Linked DNA regions of Homo sapiens: regions 2, 3 and 4 are each linked to region 1. Evidence: promoter capture Hi-C in human tissues and cell types (Jung and others, 2019). All regions are on one chromosome and are shown on one strand. Each heading gives the region's core, a stretch centred on a gene start or on the middle of the fragment in contact. The rest is flanking DNA. Distances are from core to core; before and after follow the strand shown.

Evidence for each region. The method cuts DNA at HindIII sites, captures the fragments that hold promoters and counts their contacts. A contact is called where the count stands out against the background at its distance.
Region 2: a fragment that was not itself captured here is called in contact with the fragment with the promoter of CACFD1 in region 1 in 1 of the 25 tissues and cell types used here (lymphoblastoid cells).
Region 3: a fragment that was not itself captured here is called in contact with the fragment with the promoter of CACFD1 in region 1 in 1 of the 25 tissues and cell types used here (dorsolateral prefrontal cortex).
Region 4: the fragment with the promoter of VAV2 here is called in contact with the fragment with the promoter of CACFD1 in region 1 in 1 of the 25 tissues and cell types used here (lymphoblastoid cells).

The regions. Positions count from the first base shown.
Region 1 is chr9:133,457,549-133,461,820 of GRCh38, reverse strand. It overlaps CACFD1 (calcium channel flower domain containing 1), which reads right to left and starts at 1,843. Exons shown (of 5, transcript NM_017586.5): 1 at 1,634-1,843. The coding sequence starts at 1,754. It overlaps ADAMTS13 (ADAM metallopeptidase with thrombospondin type 1 motif 13), which reads right to left. Exons shown (of 29, transcript NM_139027.6): 28 at 3,727-3,911; 29 at 2,435-2,847. The coding sequence ends at 2,641. RefSeq lists silencers at 1,328-1,627, 1,918-2,017, 2,028-2,247 and enhancers at 4,080-4,272, 3,898-4,272. The HindIII fragment of the contact is 20,945 bases long and covers 1-4,272 here.
Region 2 is chr9:134,150,220-134,154,491 of GRCh38, reverse strand. It overlaps WDR5 (WD repeat domain 5), which reads right to left. Exons shown (of 14, transcript NM_017588.3): 9 at 2,463-2,509; 10 at 1-26. Among named protein-coding and RNA genes, the nearest start is that of RNU6ATAC, 12 kb to the left of the region's middle. RefSeq lists enhancers at 1,586-2,105, 2,106-2,626. The HindIII fragment of the contact is 8,625 bases long and covers 1-4,272 here.
Region 3 is chr9:134,060,686-134,064,957 of GRCh38, reverse strand. The region is part of intron 1 of BRD3 (bromodomain containing 3); the gene reads left to right. Among named protein-coding and RNA genes, the nearest start is that of BRD3, 5.2 kb to the left of the region's middle. RefSeq lists an enhancer at 1,458-2,369. The HindIII fragment of the contact is 7,576 bases long and covers 1-4,272 here.
Region 4 is chr9:133,989,982-133,994,253 of GRCh38, reverse strand. VAV2 (vav guanine nucleotide exchange factor 2) reads left to right here and starts at 1,930. Exons shown (of 30, transcript NM_001134398.2): 1 at 1,930-2,179. The coding sequence starts at 1,976. RefSeq lists enhancers at 618-807, 704-1,431, 2,160-2,887, 2,888-3,615, 3,616-4,272 and silencers at 1,218-1,527, 1,628-1,727, 1,788-1,937, 2,208-2,297, 2,338-2,777. The HindIII fragment of the contact is 15,000 bases long and covers 1-4,272 here.

The DNA of each region.
Region 1 (4,272 bases), core at 594-3,093:
TCTACCCTGTAATACAGCATTTTGATGTTCACATAACCATGCCCCCAAAAATCTGCAGATGCAACTGACAACTCAGGGCAATGCCACAAGTTTCTCCTGAAGCTTCATCTGTAGACCCAACAGAGCCCCAGGAACTCCCAGGAAAGGCAGAGGTACCTCACTTTGAGAGGCACAGAACTGAGTAAGACTCCACAGCAAATCTGGGAGTCGGCAGGGCCACTGACCAAGAAGGAAGGAGGTGTGGCCTACAGGCCATAGTCAGGACCTTTCCTTTCTCACCACTGACCATGTCACCCCACTGCACTGCCCACCCTAATCTGCAGGGAAAACAGCTAACCAGACATGACAGGACTGGATCCAATGCCTAACTTCAAACCCACCAGTCTCTCCTACAAAGTCAAAAGCGTACTTGCCCTGAAGAGCAGTGACACAAACTCGGGGCCTTTTTGTGATTTGGGGGTAGGGCCTGCCCTACCGTATCCGTTGCCTCTGGATAAGGGCATGCCTAGCGAGGGCAGCACACTCCTAGCCCAGCACCCTCCTGCCTCAACCTCCCTCCACCCTCTACCCACCTGGAAAGGCTGTGGAACCCAAGGTGACCCTGAAAAGGTGGTCCTTCTGGCAGGATTGCTGATGGGGCCTGCCCTGCCCAGGCCCAGAGCTAGCCCTCTCTGCCAGGCAGGCACTGTTTAAAACCTGCAGACATCCTCGACAGACATTCTCTAAGACCTTGCCCACTCCAGTAATCCACAAGATTGAGGGCAGACAGGAAAGGAAAGGGTATCACTCAGACAGACTTGTCTTTCCCTGGAAGGCCAGCTGTACGGCTTCCATTCACTCCTGGAGCTGACCTGCCTCCCTCTTTGTCCTTTTCTGGCTGTGCTTAAGAGCCTAGCTTCCCTGGCAGCCTAAGGTCAGGGTCTGTGACTGGGATGCGTGCGGAGAAGGGGAGGAAGGCCGGTGACAGGCGGCTAAGGCAGCAGCAACGGGGGAGATATGAGAGCGGACAGAGGACCCAGGGAGAGGCCGGGCCCTCAGCTCACTGCCCCGCGGCCCCAGGGGCCACCTGTGCCCTGACACCACCTGACCCTCAGCAAACTTCCGCCCAGTGGCTTCCTGCCAGAAATCTAGCCAGCCGTGCACCCGCCTCCCTTACAAACAATCCTTGCCCAAAGGTTAGCAATGTGGCTGCCGTCACCTACGCCCAAGTCAACAGTTGACGCTTTAGTACGGGCCAGGTGGGCATGCGCCCCGTGAGCATCACCGAGAAAGTCTCACAAAAGCCCCTGGGGAGCGGGGGGAGGGCTCAGTCACGTGCCCCAGGCCGGTGCCCCACCCCCGCCCCCGCCGCCCCCCCGCCCTGGGGTTTCTGGTCCCTCCGGGAATGTTCCCAGAAGCGCCAGCCCAGCCCAGCCCGGGGTACCAAGGCGCCCAGGCCCGAGCGGGTAACCATGGCAACCCCAGGACGCCGGCTCCCGGCGGCCCCGCCATTCCTCCGCCCCGGGAGGCGCCCGGCAGACCCCCGACCCCCAGCGGGTCCTTTCCCCTGGGGCCGCCGGGGCGGGGCGGGGCAGGGCAGGGCGAGGAGCGCATGCGCGGCGGGGCCGGCCCCTCTCCCCGACTGGATACTCACAGACTGCCCCCAGCACCCCAGACAGGCGACACAGCCAGCGGTACCACCACGTCATGCCCTCTTCCTGCGCGGGCGGCGCAGAGCTGGCGGACGCCCCGGGCGCCCCACCTGAGCTGCTCATGGTGCCACCGTCAGGCGCAGCTCACAGCCCTCACAAAGGGCTCGGTAGCCGGCCGCGTCCGAGCCGGCGCGCTGCCTTGTGGGAGAGGGAGCATATTAGCATAGGGGGCGGGGCTTTCAGGCTGCGGCGAGGCGCGCCCGAAGGGAGGCGGGTGCTCATTAACATAGTGAGCGGGACCCTCATGCCGCGACTAGGGGCGTTTGAGGGGAGGTAGGTGCTCATTATTGTAGGGGGCGGGACCCGCAGGCTGCGGCGAGGAGCTGGGGGTGGGGAGCTCGTTAGCATACGGGGCGGGGCTCGCAGGCATCGGAGAGGTGTGCCCGAGGGGGGCGGGCGTCATTAGCGTAGGGGGCGGGGGCTCGCAGTTTGCGGCGACTTGCTCCCAAAGGAGGCGGGCGCTTATTAGCATAGGGGGCGGGGCCTGGAGGCGCGCAGACACCTTAGCGGTCAGAGCCTCACACCAGGACACACGGGTGGGGCTTCGCAGGGAGCTGGCTAATGCGCCATCCTCGGAGTGGAATCCTGATTGGATTTTCTTCCTGGATAGGAAGAAGATAACTAGGGACGTCCAGCGGCTTGCTCAGATCAAGATAGAGCCAACCGCGGCCAGCGAATCCCTGCCTTGCCATGGGATGGGTTTTCAAGCCAGGTCTGGACAGCTTATAAGAAAAAAACGCCGGTCAGCCTGCATGTTTTATTTATTGGTACCCGAGGAAATGGGGGCTGCTTTTCCAGAGTCCCCACCTCCAACCCCCTAGCCTTTTGGACATTGGAGAAGACTCTAAAGTAGATACCTAAGATTGGAAAAAGTTCGAATTGGAAAGCACTGAGACCAGGGGTCAACCCTCCAGGGCTGGCCAGACACGGAACAAATGTTCAATGACCCTCAGGTTCCTTCCTTTCCCTTCCAGGACTGAGGGTCCTGCATCTCCGGTACCCATGATTGGAGGGTCCAGTACTGGCCCCGCAGGCTGGCCTGAGCCTTCAGGAAGCCCTCGCTGAACTCCATCTCAGCCTGGCTGCTCTCTGACTCCCAGTAGAGCACCTGCTGCCCATGGAACGCTGTGGTCCTCAAGCTGTGGGTGTCCCGGATCTGAGAGAAAAGGGGCAGCCCAGAAGGACCGGCCACAAGTAATAATTAGCACTCACGGAAGCCTTCGTGTGCAAGGGCTCACAGATTCCGGATCACATTTAATGCTTACAAAGCCCTACTAGGAATACGCCATTACTCTACCCAGAAAACCGAGGTCCAGGGACGTTACATCACTTCCCCAAGGACACACAGTCAGGGTGCCAGAGCGGGGCCAGGCTGCCTCCTCTGGGGAAGCTGATACCCTGCAGAACACAGTTCTCCCAGGACACTTGAAACCTCGGGGAGGGTGCAGGGTGCTATTCTGTCCAAGTTATATCAGACTGTAAAATTATGCTTCAGTCTTGGGTTAGCTGTCAGTCTACATCAGAAAGGTCTTTACCATTCTTTACCATTTCGCTTTTTTTTTTTTTTTTTTTTTGAGACAGAGTCTCACTCTGTTGCCCAGGCTGGAGTGCAGTGGTGCGATCTGGGCTTAGTGCAACCTCCACCTCCCGGGTTCAAGTGATTCTTGTGCCTCAGCCTCCCAAGTAGCTGGGATTACAGGCACACGCCACCATGCCTGGCTACTTTTTCTATTTTTAGTAGAGACAAGGTTTCATCATGTTGGCCAGGCTGGTCTCGAACTCCTGACCTTGAGTGATCTGCCCTCCTGGGCCTCCCAAAGTGCTGGGATTACAGTTGTGAGCCACTATTTCACTCTTGTAGGTAGCTCAAAAAACATTTCTTGGTGAATATGTGGAGGAAGCTATCTTCTCCCATTCTTTCACTAATGATTTTGAGGGTTTTAGTCTGAAATAAACTGAAGGGGGTCCCCTAGCCCTGCACGCCCTAGGGAAAGCTGTCCAGAATCACAGCACAAGTCCCCATGCTGGGCCTCACCAAGATGTAGCTGGCATTGGCTCCCTCGGTCCCAGCGCCCATGTTGGTGGCCAGGGCATGGATGGCAATCCGTGCGTGCGGAGCCACATTAATGAAGAGCCGGCAGCCCCCTGCATTACTCGTGGCTGGACTCAGCGAGGGGCTCACGATTTCACCCCAGGGCCCAAAGAGCTGCATGTCACATTCTGCAGGTGGGACATAGGGACATAGGAACCCAGACAGACCGGTGGTGCCAGAGGCCAGGACAACTCACAGCCAGGGAGCCGTGCAGGGCAGCATGGCACTGTGGTCAATATTGGGGTTCCCAGGCAAATCCTGCTGAACCCCACCTCTACCACTTCCTGGCCCAGTGACTTTAGGCAAAGGCTAAATGTTCTGGGCTCTGGTTCCCTCCTCTGTAACTGAAGGAAACAATGGCATGCACTGAGCAGAGTGGTCTTTAGGACTCAATGATGTCACACGTGCAAGAGTGTTTAACACTGAAACTGGCAACAAAGATAGGCTCCACCCATGGCGGCCACTGCTGTTCCTCAGAGCTCACTGGAG
Region 2 (4,272 bases), core at 1,113-3,612, 690 kb before region 1:
AAAAGACACGGGGGGGTTGTCGTCATCTGCAATAAAAACGGACAGGTGACACACGGCGGGCGCTGACAGCCAGGCAGGGACAGGAGGTGGGACCCGCTCCCCATCCCCCACGTGCGACATCTGAGTGAGGTCGGCCACCACCATCAGTGCCAGCACCACCACCCCTCGCCGCCCCGAAGGGTGGCCTAGCCACGCACACCAGCCGTGAGCAGGTTCTTGACACCTCAAGCCCATAGGCCCGGGGGCCCCTTGACACCAGGACTTTACGAATACAGGCCTCCTGGGGCACCAGGCCATGGGCACTCTCAGGAATCACCTGCCTCACAGGGGATGGATAAGGCTGGCGAATGCCCAACTCAACAGAGGGACAACTCCACCAGCAGCAAAGAGGGCTGGGGAATCACCTCGGAAATTCTCCTTTAAGAATTTATCGACGCAAGGGGCATCTGCACCCACAGAACCCATCTGTTTGTTGTCACATCCACAGCTAATGCCCCAGGCCTATCAGCTGGACTCTGCAGCCCTGAGGGCAGAGCAGAGCCGCTGCTTCTCACACAGCTGAAAAAGAGTCAAGGTTCCCAGAAGCTGTCGATGTACAGGTCAGAGTTTTCAGGACATGGCAACCCCACGACCCTCAGAAGTGGAGGAAGGCATCTCCTCTCACCTGAGTGAGGAGGAGGGAATCTCAAGGAAGGTGTGTCCTGGTGCAGGCCCCACCCCTGGGCCCCACCAGAGACCCCCACCGACCCCCAAGCACGTGCACGCGCTGGTGTGTCCCGAGCACCGGGAAGGACACGGCCCTCAGCATTACCACCACGGGGACGCCTGGCCTCGCCAGGCACCTGGCGTCTCCGCTCCCTCAGCCCGGTCACATACACTGAAAAGGCACGGGAGACGCTGTGAGGCCATGCGGTCCCTCCCTCAGGGGCACACCACGTCACACCGCCAGGCAGGCCGAGGTCACAGTGAGGGCCGGGGGGCCGGGCTCCCTTAACACAGCTGATGGCAAGCGTGTCCGCATGCCTAACCCAGGCTGCCTGGGCAGAGCCTCACAGAGATGAACGCATCAGCCAACCTGTCTCAGTGAAGTCCAGAAGGGTCTAACTCGCTAGACCTGAGGAGACGCCGATGGGAAAACTGCTATGCAGCGACCCCTCCGTCCCCACCCTGGGCTCAGGGGCGCCCAGGCTGGAATCCCAGTCCCTGCACCTGCTTGCTGTGGAGCTTTGGGCTAGTGAATGAGCCTCTATGCAGGATGAGGACAACCCCCCTCCTCAGAGGTGGCCGTGAGGGTTACGTGTGCTCACACAACAGCGGCGCACACAACTGAGCACAGGTGGCCCGTCCAGGGGACACCAAGTGCGGTGTGATCTCAATCAGGAGAGATGCATGGCAAAAGGCTGGCCCCACAAGGCAGGAAGCTATAAAGACCGCTGTGGCAAGGGGACTCATGCTGAAGCCCAAGCCTCCAGAGCCTCAGAGGCGAGTGTACTGGAGACAGGGCCTTCAAAGAGGGCGACAGAGTGAAAATGAGGCCCAAGGGTGGTGTCCTTACAAGAGGACATTTGGACACACGGAGGCACCAGGGACACTGGTGTGAAGCCAGGGTAAGGCAGCGTCTATAAGCCAAGAAGAGGCCTCCTCAATCCTGACCACAGCCTCCTGGACTGCGGGGAGACACATTCCTGCCACAGATAGCCTCCCAGCCTGTGGGGCTTGGTCTCAGCTAGGCCAGCAGGCTATGACAGACTAGAGGGAAGAAGGGCGCAAACGGGGTGCCTCCCCACACGGGGGTCCATCCCCCCATCCTCACCACCCAGCTCCCTCCTCAAGGTGCGCCCCATCCCACACATCTAGCCTAGGCTTCTTAAACACGAACACTCCCCGGATGAAAACCCTTCCGCTCCTTTCTGCAGGCTCTGCAAGGGGCAGCTGGGAACCCCGGGCCGTCACAGACCCTCAGGCCACACCCTGCCCAGCACCTGGCCTTCCCATCCAGGCCACGCCACGTCCCTCCTTCCTCTCCTCAGGCCTGTCCTCCGTGCCCCCAGGACACCTCCATCCACCTCGGCAGCACCCCCAGCAGATGGGCAGGCACTCAGCCGGTCACTCAAGGAATGATCCAAGAGGCTGGCACGACAGCAGGGGCCCGAAGCCAGGAGGCAATGGGGCTGCCCAGAGGACTCCAGTGAGCAGCCGGAGTGAGGCCGACAGCACAGGTGGAGGAGCCCCAGGCTGGCCCAAGAGAAAGGCCATGGCAGGAAAACTGCACCAGAAGGAGCAACAGAGCCAGCGGGCGGTCAGGGGGAGCTGGCGGAACGGTCGGACACGGAGGAAGGTTCCTCCTGCAGGGGCGGACCCAGGGCAGAGGAGGGAGGAGGAGCTGGTGAAGAACAGGGGCAGTGAACCCAGCAGGGGAGGCCCTCCCCACAGACCCAGCCCCCACACAGAGCCACACTCACCGATGAGCGTCTTCAGGCACTGGCCTGAGGCGGTGTCCCAGATGCGACTTCGAAGCAAAGAGAACAAAAAAGCGTAAGCAGACAAGTTATGATCTCACGCGGGCTGCTGGGAGTCAGATATAAATTTTAGGACTAGCACGCTTTTCCCTATCTTTTTTTAAAAGTTATGCTTCACCTGTTTAACAGTCATTCTCTTATATTCTAGGGACAAAGACTAAACACTGTCCATACAAACATCAACAGTCCACACATGCTACACACGTGCAGACCATGTGTGGGGTACCTCTGGATCTCTCCTACACAAGCCACAGTTGACCCCCAACACAGAGCGGGAAGCCTGTTGCTCTCTCCACTCTCCCTGGCCAAGGAGAGGGGCAGCAGCAGCCCAGTGCTTCTCGCAGGCTCTGCCCACGCTCATGCAAACACATGCAAGCAATGAGAGGGCTTCTTTCAAAACAAAAATTTAAGAGTATTGTAAGCAGTCTTCTGGACTATTCCCAGAAGGTACAAGCCAGGCATTTACATTGTTCCAATTTCAGGGTTTCTGTGATTTCTGCCAATACAGACGCATTCTGGAAGCAGAGCCCACTGTGTTAGCACCCACAATTCTACTGCACAGATGCCAGCAGCGGGGAACAGGCTCGGGTCACACGTGGACAAATCATTCCCCAAGCACGAGACCCCATGGCCGCCATGCACGGTCCCTCCCATCTCTCACCCATGGAGAAGCCGCCTCTGGGAGGGCCCCGAAGCTCTCTGCTCTGCACACCCACCTCCTGTTCTGCCCACACTTCAATAATCCAGGGACGAGACCACACTGGACCTCAGACACTTCACCCAGGGTTTTCAAACCCAGAAGCAGCAACTCTCCTCCCAACTCTGCATCTTCTCAATTCTCTCAGCAACAGCTCCATCCTGCTGCCCCATGGATCTCAAATTCATGTCCTCTAGCTCCGCAATCACTGCGGGAGGGCCTCTCCGGAGCCGCCTCATCTCCTAACCCTCAAGACCTAACCCCCGTGTGTCCTTTCAGTTCCATTTCTCATTTCCTGCATTGGTCCTGCTCCTTCTCACTAGCCGCATTCCTAAACATCTTAGCATTTTTGTCACTGTTAAAATGGAAACATTTTCCCCATCTTCTAACTGGCAATTCCTAGTATACAGAAAAAAGTCCATTTTCAAGCACTGATGGCACTAAACGCGAGATCACACCACGTAGCTAGCAGGGCAGGGGGTTCCAGGCCCAGACTCCAGAGCTGACACGGGTTCTGGTCCTGCACTGAGCAACTGAGAGACCGTGGTAACTGTCCCTGCCTGAAAAGCAAGGCTGACAGTACCCACGTCACAGGGTTAAATGGGTATTTGAAAAGCAGTGTTGGTGGCTTTTAAATATTTTAAAACATGCAAACATATCTACAAAGATGTGTATCTCTATTCAATTTTCATAGGACTATTTTTTCATTTTCTTACACTAACTAGAAACTCCCAACAATGCTGAGTAACATGGGAACCAAGCACACCTGTCCCACTTCTGATTTTCATAGAAAGAGTTTCAGCATGTCGCCACATGTGAAAATTATTAGTTACCAGTAAGTGGTCAACAATACTGCTCTATCTTGCTGAAGGGTTGGCTGCTGGATATTATCAATCAGGCGCCTTTTTGACCCCTACTAATTAATAACAGACAGAGACATTTAACGCCTTTAATCTGTTGGTAGAATTAGATAATAGGTTTCCTGATGTTTACGTTATAATCCTTTCATTATCCAATAATGAATGAATTCCTTGGCTATGGGAATTCCTTTCTGTG
Region 3 (4,272 bases), core at 1,026-3,525, 600 kb before region 1:
ATGATGGGGTGCCAGGTGCATTTGGGTCAGCGTTTGCCAAGAATGGCCTTGCTCCTGTGTTTTTGTTGGTACTGCCACCTTGTAGAGGTGCCCAGCTGGTGGCGGAGCATAGGGTTTTCTTTGCCTATTCTCCTTCCTGTGAAATCATGGGCACAGACATCATGGGCCCCTGTGCCCGGGCCTCCCTGCTCTGGTTCCTGGGCTCCTGCCATCTGAGAGGCTTGAGGGCTTGCTTATTTGTTTGTTTGTTTGTATTTTTAGTAGAGATGGCGTTTCACCATGTTGGCCAGGCTGGTCTCAAACTCTTGGCCGTGAGTGACCCACCCGTCTCTGCCTCCTGAAGTGCTGGGATTACAAGCGTGAGCCACCATGCTCGGCCAAGATGCTTGAGAGCTCATTTATTTATTTACTTATTTTGAGACAGAGTATCACTCTGTTGCCCAGGCTGGTGTGTAATGGCATGATTTCCCTTCACTGCAACCTCCACCTCCTGGGTTCAAGCAATTCTCCCTGGCTCAGCCTGCCAAGTAGCTGGGATTACAGGTGCCCGCCACCACGCCTGGCTATTTTTTTTAATTTTTTTTAATTTTTTAGTAAAGATGGGGTTTCGCCATGTTGGCCGGGCTGGTCTTGAACTCCTGACCTCAGGTGATCCACCCATCTCAGCCTCCCAAAGTGCTGAGATTACAGGTGTGAGCCACCATGCCTGACCGAGAGCTCTTTTAAAGAGAAAGTGTCACTTTGGGCCATTCACCTGTTGGTGGTTTAAATTGTAAGTCTTCTGGCCACTCCTGATTGAGCTCGCAGTGGAGCCAGGACCTGTGCGTGTGGCTGGAGGCTCGGACCCTGTTGTGTCCGTGCTGTTGGCTGTCTGCGTCTCGCACCAGTCTGTGGCTGTTCCCTGAGAGTCAGTTCGCAGGCTGCCTCCTCACAGGGCCTTCGGAGCCTGGTGTTGGGAAGATGGGGCGTGGAACATGCCCCCGCCCCCCTCCTTGCCGCAGGCCCCCAAGGTACTGAGTTCGTCAGAAGTTAATCCGGTATTGTGGGAGACAACTTTTCCAGCCACTTGGAAAAGTGTCCCGCTGAGGGTGCAGTGATGTTCAGGAGTCGCCGGCTGGATCTTTCTGAGTGTGGCTTGATAACCAGCTGCAGCATTTTGCAAAGCACCCAGTGGACTCGGGTGTGATCTGCAGAGGCGGCTGCTGGCCAGGCCTGGAGTCTGGGGCAGAGGGAGTGCCCTCAGTGCACCTGTGAGGACCTGGGACTAAGAGTCGGTACCTGGGAGCTGTGGGACTCTGGGGCGGGACGGCCTTAGCCTCCGTGTGAGCACTGACCGAGATGAGGCACAGATGCATCTGTGTGAGGTGCCCGGCCCCTGCAGGAGTGCTGAGTATTGTAGCTATAACCTGTCATGTGGCAGAAGGAAGAATCTACTATAAGCGGCTGAGAGGATGCCCTCCCTGTGCCATGCGTCACTGGAGCCTTGGCCTGACAATCCCACAAGGAGCAAAATGTGCAAAGGGGCAGCTGTGTGAGCCTGCGGGTCCAGGGTGCCACCCGCCCCCATCTGCCCACACCACAGGACAGAGCCCTGGGTATGCTGACCAGGCCCTCGCTGGTACCAGGGGCTGGGTAGGAGGCAAGGGTCAAGCACGGTGGCTCCGTGGGCTGTGGACTCACAGACAGATGTGCTGCATGCCCACGCTTTGCTCTTAGCTCTGCCTCCGGTCTGTCCCGGCAACAGGCCTGGGGGCGTCCTGCAGTCCTCGGCATTTGTGGTTGGGGGTGAGCAGAGAACATAGACGAAATAACCAAGGGGATGGTCTGAGAGCTGCGGCCCTGCTGGCCCCTTGTCCTGGCTCGGCATGGCTGAGTGGGACAGCAGTGAGGCCAGGCCTGTCTCCTGGGGCCGGGGTGTTTTGTGAGTTTGGTTCTTGTCAGGCCGGCTGAGAGGAGATGGAGCAGACAGATGGATGCTAGGTGGGCCTGCCGCAGCTTTGTTTTAGGAAGTGCGGAGCACCAGGGCCTGACCCTGAGGCTGTGTCCCTCTAAGAGCACGGTGTCTCCTTCCCTCTAAAGGGCCAGGTGCTGTCCTCACTCACTGCCCCTCTGAAGAGAGTCCCCTGCCTGAGTCGTGGCTCTCCTGCCCTTCCCAGACCCGTGGGAGACCCTGACTACGTGGCGGTGGCCTGGGGTTGGGAGGGCCTGACCAGTGTCTGTGGGGCCAACTTCCTCGTTCCCAGCATGTGTGGAGGGTCGGGCCTCCTCACGCGCCTCATGAGGGTCCCACGGGGGTAGAGCGTCCTTTGAGTCCTCTCTATTCGAGGAGTGGGTAGAGAGGCGGGTAGGGACGGAGCTTGGAAGAGGTGACGGGTTGTGGCCAGAAGGCTGTGGGGGCGTCATGGCAGGAAGGGAAACCTTCAGAGAGGCCGCTCACCCAGGGCCGTGGGGCCATGGAGAAGCACAGGCCCTGGGTTCAGAAAGCAGGAGGCATATGAGGTCTTAGGTCTAGAAGGCACTGGTGGGTGCAGAGTGGGGAGAACTGTGGGGTGCAGGGGACAGTCACGGGAGAGGCAGCGCTGGCAGCTGCACCTGCCCAGCGTGTCTGGGGCCATGCCCCAGGATAGCCCCACCAGTCTGCTGAAGCGCCCCGGGACAGGGCTGGGCCTGTAGAGCCGGGCCCTCCAGGCGGCCAGGCAGCTGCAGGAGAGCAGGTGCGCTGTGCATGGGGGGCTCACAGCACTGGGCAGATTCCCCTGGGGAGTAGGCGCCAGGGCTGGCCGTGCCTGCTTGGGTGGGGCCCACGATGCCCAGCTGCCCTCCCCAGGGCTCCTCCAGGGCTACAGGGGGCCCCCAACCCCCGACTTCTCCCCTGGCTCCATAGAAGGAAGCAGTTGGCTCCGTCTGTCACTGAAGGCAGCCCTGCCCTGACAGATCCAGTTTCCCGAGTCCTGGAGGGTGGCCGCTGGTCACCACGTGGGCTGGGGAGGCCCCTCTGGCCGCCTGGGGACAGGTGCTAGGTTGGCCGGGTTAGATGGGGCTGTGGGGGCAGCAGGCTGGGATCCCTTCTCACAGACTCAGCTCCCTCCTGCCACAGCCGATCACAGCACTGCTCCCAGCATTATCCCGAGAATTCTGGGGCTGTGGGGTGTTGGCGGTGAGTCTGGCATGGATGTCCAGCTTTGTTCAAGCTGGCTCTGGCCTTCTCTGCCTGGGCGACGTTGTGCCCCTTCACCTCTGAGCGTCCCCTCCACTTATGGAAGATGGGGCTCATCTGACCCCCACTGACGCAGGACAGAGTCCAGGAGACGGGCTGGAGTGCCCCAGTGGGGGCCATCCAGTCAGGGACACAGGTACAGAGGCCCAGAGCTATGGAAATTCCAGGGCTGGAGACCCATGGGGAATGGGGAGCCCCTGGGAAAGGCCTCCCCTAGCTTCCTCCAGCACCCCCACCCTTGGTTCCAGTGCTCCTGTCTCCCACCCTTTAGCTGGCAGGTCTGGTTGAGCCCCTGCAGAGCTATGTAGCCCTGCCCCTCCCTGCCACTGCTCCTCCAGACTCATGCTATAGCTGGAATGGCCTTGGTAAGCTGTCCTCCCAACCCTGCCTGTTTGCTGAAAGCTGGGACTCCCCATCCCTGGACCCCAAATAAGGACTTTTTGCTCTGGGCCCAGGCCAGGCTGGAGATGCCCCCATGGTCCAGCCGCTGCCCCTTGGCTGGTTTGCCCCAGGGTGTGGCATTGGAGGCAGCACCCCTCTGTCCTCCCTCTGTGGAGTGCCTGAAGGCTAGGCTGCTGTGCTGCCCAGGCGACATGCCTGCTCCTGCCCCTCTGGGTCTCTGCTCCCCAAGAGGGCCATGGAATGGCAGGAGGGGTCAGGGAGACTGCTACTGGCATTTCTGGGTGTTTTCTTTGGTGGCAACTGGACAGATTCCCATTCCCTCCCTGTTTGTCCACAGCCCTGAAACAGCCCTGGACTCAGCATCTTTTCTGATGAATTCTGGGCTGGGCCAGCCTAAAGGGGGCTGAATTTCTGCTTTTCATTCAGGTCCTCCTGTGCCCTATGGAGAGGAAGGCAGAGTCCAGGGACCTTGGGAAGGGTTCAGGGGGCCACCCACAGCTTCAGGGCCAGAGGTGGGCCTGCCTGGGGCCACACAGCAAGGGTGAGGATAGGTAGGATTCGGGCCACCTCACCAACATTCCTTCCATGTCCAGCACAGAGCCTCTCTTGGATGGGGCATGAGTGGGACCCAGGAAGGGGGCTAGTCAGTGTTA
Region 4 (4,272 bases), core at 681-3,180, 530 kb before region 1:
GGATGAGGCTTTGCAGGAGGAGGGATCAGTGTAGGCTCTCAGATGGGGCTGGAGGGCCCCGCTCAGGTTTCACTCCTGGCTTTCTGATTTCTTAGGGAGATGCTGATGGGTCCACCTGCTGCCCCATCTTGCTTCGGTGAGGAAAGCTCTCCCCCTTGCCCTAAAGGTGCCCACTGCTGCTTCCTCGGGGAAGGGCAAGAGACCTGAGCCCCCGCCTCACCAGCCACCTGGCCTGAGTTTACTGCTGCAGGGGCCAGCTCCTTCCTGACCTCTCTCTACGGGCCAGACCCTAAGCTGGGACCCCCTGCTTCCACCTCAGTGGAGAAGGGGTGAGTCTGACTCTGCAGAGACCAATTTCCAGGACAGGACCCCCATCGGAGGCCCTGGGCCCAGGGGACCCTCTCTGCGCTCGCATCCCCGTTCCGGCCCCTGCGCAGGGAAGCCACGGGGTAAGGGGTCCGGGGGCTGCAGTGCAGCCCCAGCTCATACAGGCCCAGGATTCCACCGGAGTCCAGGGTGGGAGCCCTCAGACACCGCACCCCAGCCTCCGGGCTGAGCCAGTCTCAGAGAAGGGCTTGGACTTGCCTGGTGTCCCCCAGTGAATCAGCAGTGAAAACCCGCGGTTCCCGGCAGCTGAGCCAGGATCCATATAATTTCAGTTGCAGAATCTGTTTGTCCTTGAAGCCCCTCCTACCGTCACACGTTGCCAGCTGGACAGACCGCGCCCCCACCACCCAGGGTGTGGCCTAGAAGGGAGATCAGGGCGGATCAGCACCGGGGCCGGCTGCGACCCTGGGCCGGAGAGCACCTTCCTGCCCTCACTCATGTCACGCATTCCGCCCTGGACGCCAGGAACTGCCCGCTGGGCAGCTGCGAGTGGCCAGGACTTTGGCCAAAAGCTGGGGAATCCTGGCCTTTATGCAGGGTCGGGGGTCTTCCTATGGGCCCCCGGCCAGGGCGGAGGACAGGAAGAGGGCTCTGGGAGTCCTGGGCCCGTGTGCCTTCAGCCTCAGCCTCGGGTATCCCGCCGGGGCGGCTTGATGGGCCAAGGGGGCTCAGTAAGCTTCGGCCCAGCCCGGTGCCCTCTCCCGAGTCTGTCGTTACCGAACGGCCATGCGAGGGCGCCCAGCGCGACAGGGACCACCTCCTGACCTCCACGGAGGACCAAAGGCACCCGGGGGGACGCCCGGCCATCACTCCACGGGCGAGGTCGCTCCCCCAGGGAGAAGGGCTCCCCAAAGTCCGAGCGCCCTTGGAGAAAGTCGGCCGGACCTGGGCCTGCGCCGCAACCCCCGCCCACCGCAACTTTCGCGGGCGGTAGCGGGGCAGGAAGTGGGGGGGCGGGGGCGGCGCTTGGGACACGGGGAGGTGCCAGGCGAGTGCTCCGGCCCCGCCCCTGCCCCGCCCGGCCGTGGCCGCGCCCCCTGCGCCCCCAGCGCCCCGGAGCCGTGGAGCCGCCGAGCCGCCGAGTCGTCGAGTCGCAGCGCCGGGCGTGGGGACTGCGGGTGGGGCGAACAAAGCGGCGGCGACGCGGGCGGCCCAGGCCCGGGACGCGCGGAGCGAGCGACCCCGCCGGGCCTTTGTCTCGGGCGGGGCAGGAGCCGCGGCGGCCGCGGGGCGCCCCGAGCGCAGAATGCGGCGCCCGGCGGCGCGGATTGGGGAGCGCTGCGGCGACTGGCTGCGTGGAGCCCGGCCCGGGGCCCGCAGGCACTTGCGTGTGTGAAGCGGGGAGATCCGGCGCGCTGCCCGTTGCCCGCCCCGCGGCCGCACGTGGGCGGGAGCGGCGGCCCGAGAGGAGCCCGAGGAGTAGGAGGAGGAAGAGGAGGGGACGCACGGCGGCGCAGCGGGGGACCTGGGGCAGCCCGCGCGAAGCCCCGCCCCGGCCCTGAGCCCCGCGCGCGCGCGGGCGGGATGCCCCGCGGCCGCTGCACTTTGGCTCGAGCACTGCCCTGAGCCGGTCGGGCCCGCGGGCGCCATGGAGCAGTGGCGGCAGTGCGGCCGCTGGCTCATCGATTGCAAGGTCCTGCCGCCCAACCACCGGGTGGTGTGGCCCTCGGCCGTGGTCTTCGACCTGGCGCAGGCGCTGCGCGACGGGGTCCTTCTGTGCCAGCTGCTGCACAACCTCTCCCCCGGCTCCATCGACCTCAAGGACATCAACTTCCGGCCGCAGATGTCCCAGGTGAGCGCCCGGCGGGCGGGAGGGCCCCGGGGAGGCGGCGTTCGCGCTGCCCGACGCGCGGACTGAACGCGGAGGTCGCAGCGGCGGCGGCCCAGGCGCCCTGGCTGGGGCGGCCGGGCTCCGGGACGCGGGCGGGCGGCTGGAGGGTGCGCCCCGGGCCTCCGAGACGCGACCTCAGGAGGCGCGAAGTTGGCCAAAGTCCCCTCAGCCTGGGTCGCGCCGCCGCCGCCCGCGGGCACTGCTCTGGTGCGCCGGTTCCGCGGTCTGCGCGGCCTGGGATGGGGGAGGCTCCGGCGCTGCGCTCGCTCTGCGGGGCCCTGCGAGTGGCCCCTCATTTCCCAGGGAGCCTGCCGAGCCGGGTGTGCGCGTCGTGGGTCGCATCCTTGGGCCTCGCGCCTCCTGGCCGGACGCCGGTGGAAGAGCGGGCGCGGTCGCTGCGCCGGCCCGGGGCGCGGCTGGAGGGCCCGGGAGGGGCGCGGGGCGGGAGCCCTCGGGGCCGGAGGGAGCTGGGTTGGCCCCGGGCACCGCCCCCTCGCCGGCCTCCGCCTCTTCCCGGACCCGGACCCGGGCCACTTGGCGCCAGTCCTGGCTCCCGGGTCGAGCCGCCTCGAGGATCCCCAGGGCCACTTGGCCCCAGTCCTGGCCCCCATCGCTTTCCCAACACCCCCACCCCTCCTTCGGGCGCTGAGTGTGGCCTTTGTCGCGGCGGAGGCACGCGTGCGGCCGCAGGGCCAGGCAGGAAAATGCCTGCCCAGCCGAACGAAGCTGCTTTTCTTGGCCTCTTAAGAGGGAACTTGGCTAAGACTTGAGAGAATCGAGGCTTCCGTCCTGTTCTCCGGGGGTCGCGGAATCCTTACCGGGAGCAGCTTAGAAGAGGTCGGGGGAGGCAGAGCGGGTGGCAGCCGGGTCCACCCAGCGCCGAGGAGGTGCGGTCTTCCAGCCAGCTCAGCAGCCCCTCACCGCGCGCAGTGGCAACTCCATGTGGAGAGGGACCATTCACCAGTGGGACTTAGGACGTGGTTCCTGGGAAGGAGGGAGAGTGAGTCACCAGCGATTCCAGGCTGGGCAGCGAGGCCTCTGCCCTTTGGCGGTGACTGCGTTTCCTAGGAGACCGGGCCTTTCTCTGCCGGGTTGGGGGGCGCTGACAAAGGCAAGCCCAGAGGGGAAGGGGCCGCCTTCCCACTGGGTAATGATTACCCAGCACTGCCTGGACCGGCTTAGCAGGAGCCCTCAGAGGCCTCCCTGGGAGCCAGCGCCTCTTCCCGCAGGATGTCAGTGGTCAGGTGCAGGTGGCGGGGGTGGCGGTCACTGCTGCAGAGGGCTTCCCCGGATCTGTTCTCAGAGCCCCACGGGGACTGGGAAGTCTGGACTCCATTTTATGGCTGGAGAAACTGAGGAGAAGGGTAGCTGTTGGGGAGCAGGGCTGGGCCTCGAACCAAGGTGGCTGCCTTTGATATGAGTTCCAGGGGCTGCCCAGGCTGACTTGCTCGGGCAGGATTCCCTGCTGCTTGCAGGCTGGGGCTCAGGGCAGAGGCAGGGCAGCTGGGTCCGCACAGAGGAGGCTTGGGAGGAGCCCAGCCTTGCCTGGTGGACTCGCTGGGTCCGGGGGCTGCCCCTCCCCAGCTGTGGTTTGGGAAGATGGGAAGAGGAGGGGGCCGTGGCTGTGGCAGGTGGCTTGGCTCAGCTCCTGCACTGGAAGTTCAAGCCAGAGACTTCCTGGGGTCTCTGGAGCCATTGGCCAGGCAGCAATACGAACCCTGACAGAGGCCCCTTGAGCCCTGCTGCTGGGGGGTGGACGGGTGTCTAGGGGTCCCGCTGCTGGGCCGGTAGAGGGGTGTTTAGGGGCCCTGCTGCCGGACTCGTGGAGGGCGTGTAGGGGCCTGGATGGTAGGAGGACCAGATGGGTGTGTGTCTGTGTGGCTCTCCGCTCTGATTGAATCCTGGCACTGTCCCCTCCCAGGTAGGCAACGACCTCCAGAGCCTCAGTTTCCCCATCTCTGTCATGAGAACAGTCATAGCAGTCCCCTCGTAGCCATGCTGTGAGGATTTGCTAAGGGCAGGCACAGAAGGCACACCCTTCGCACAGTGCCCAG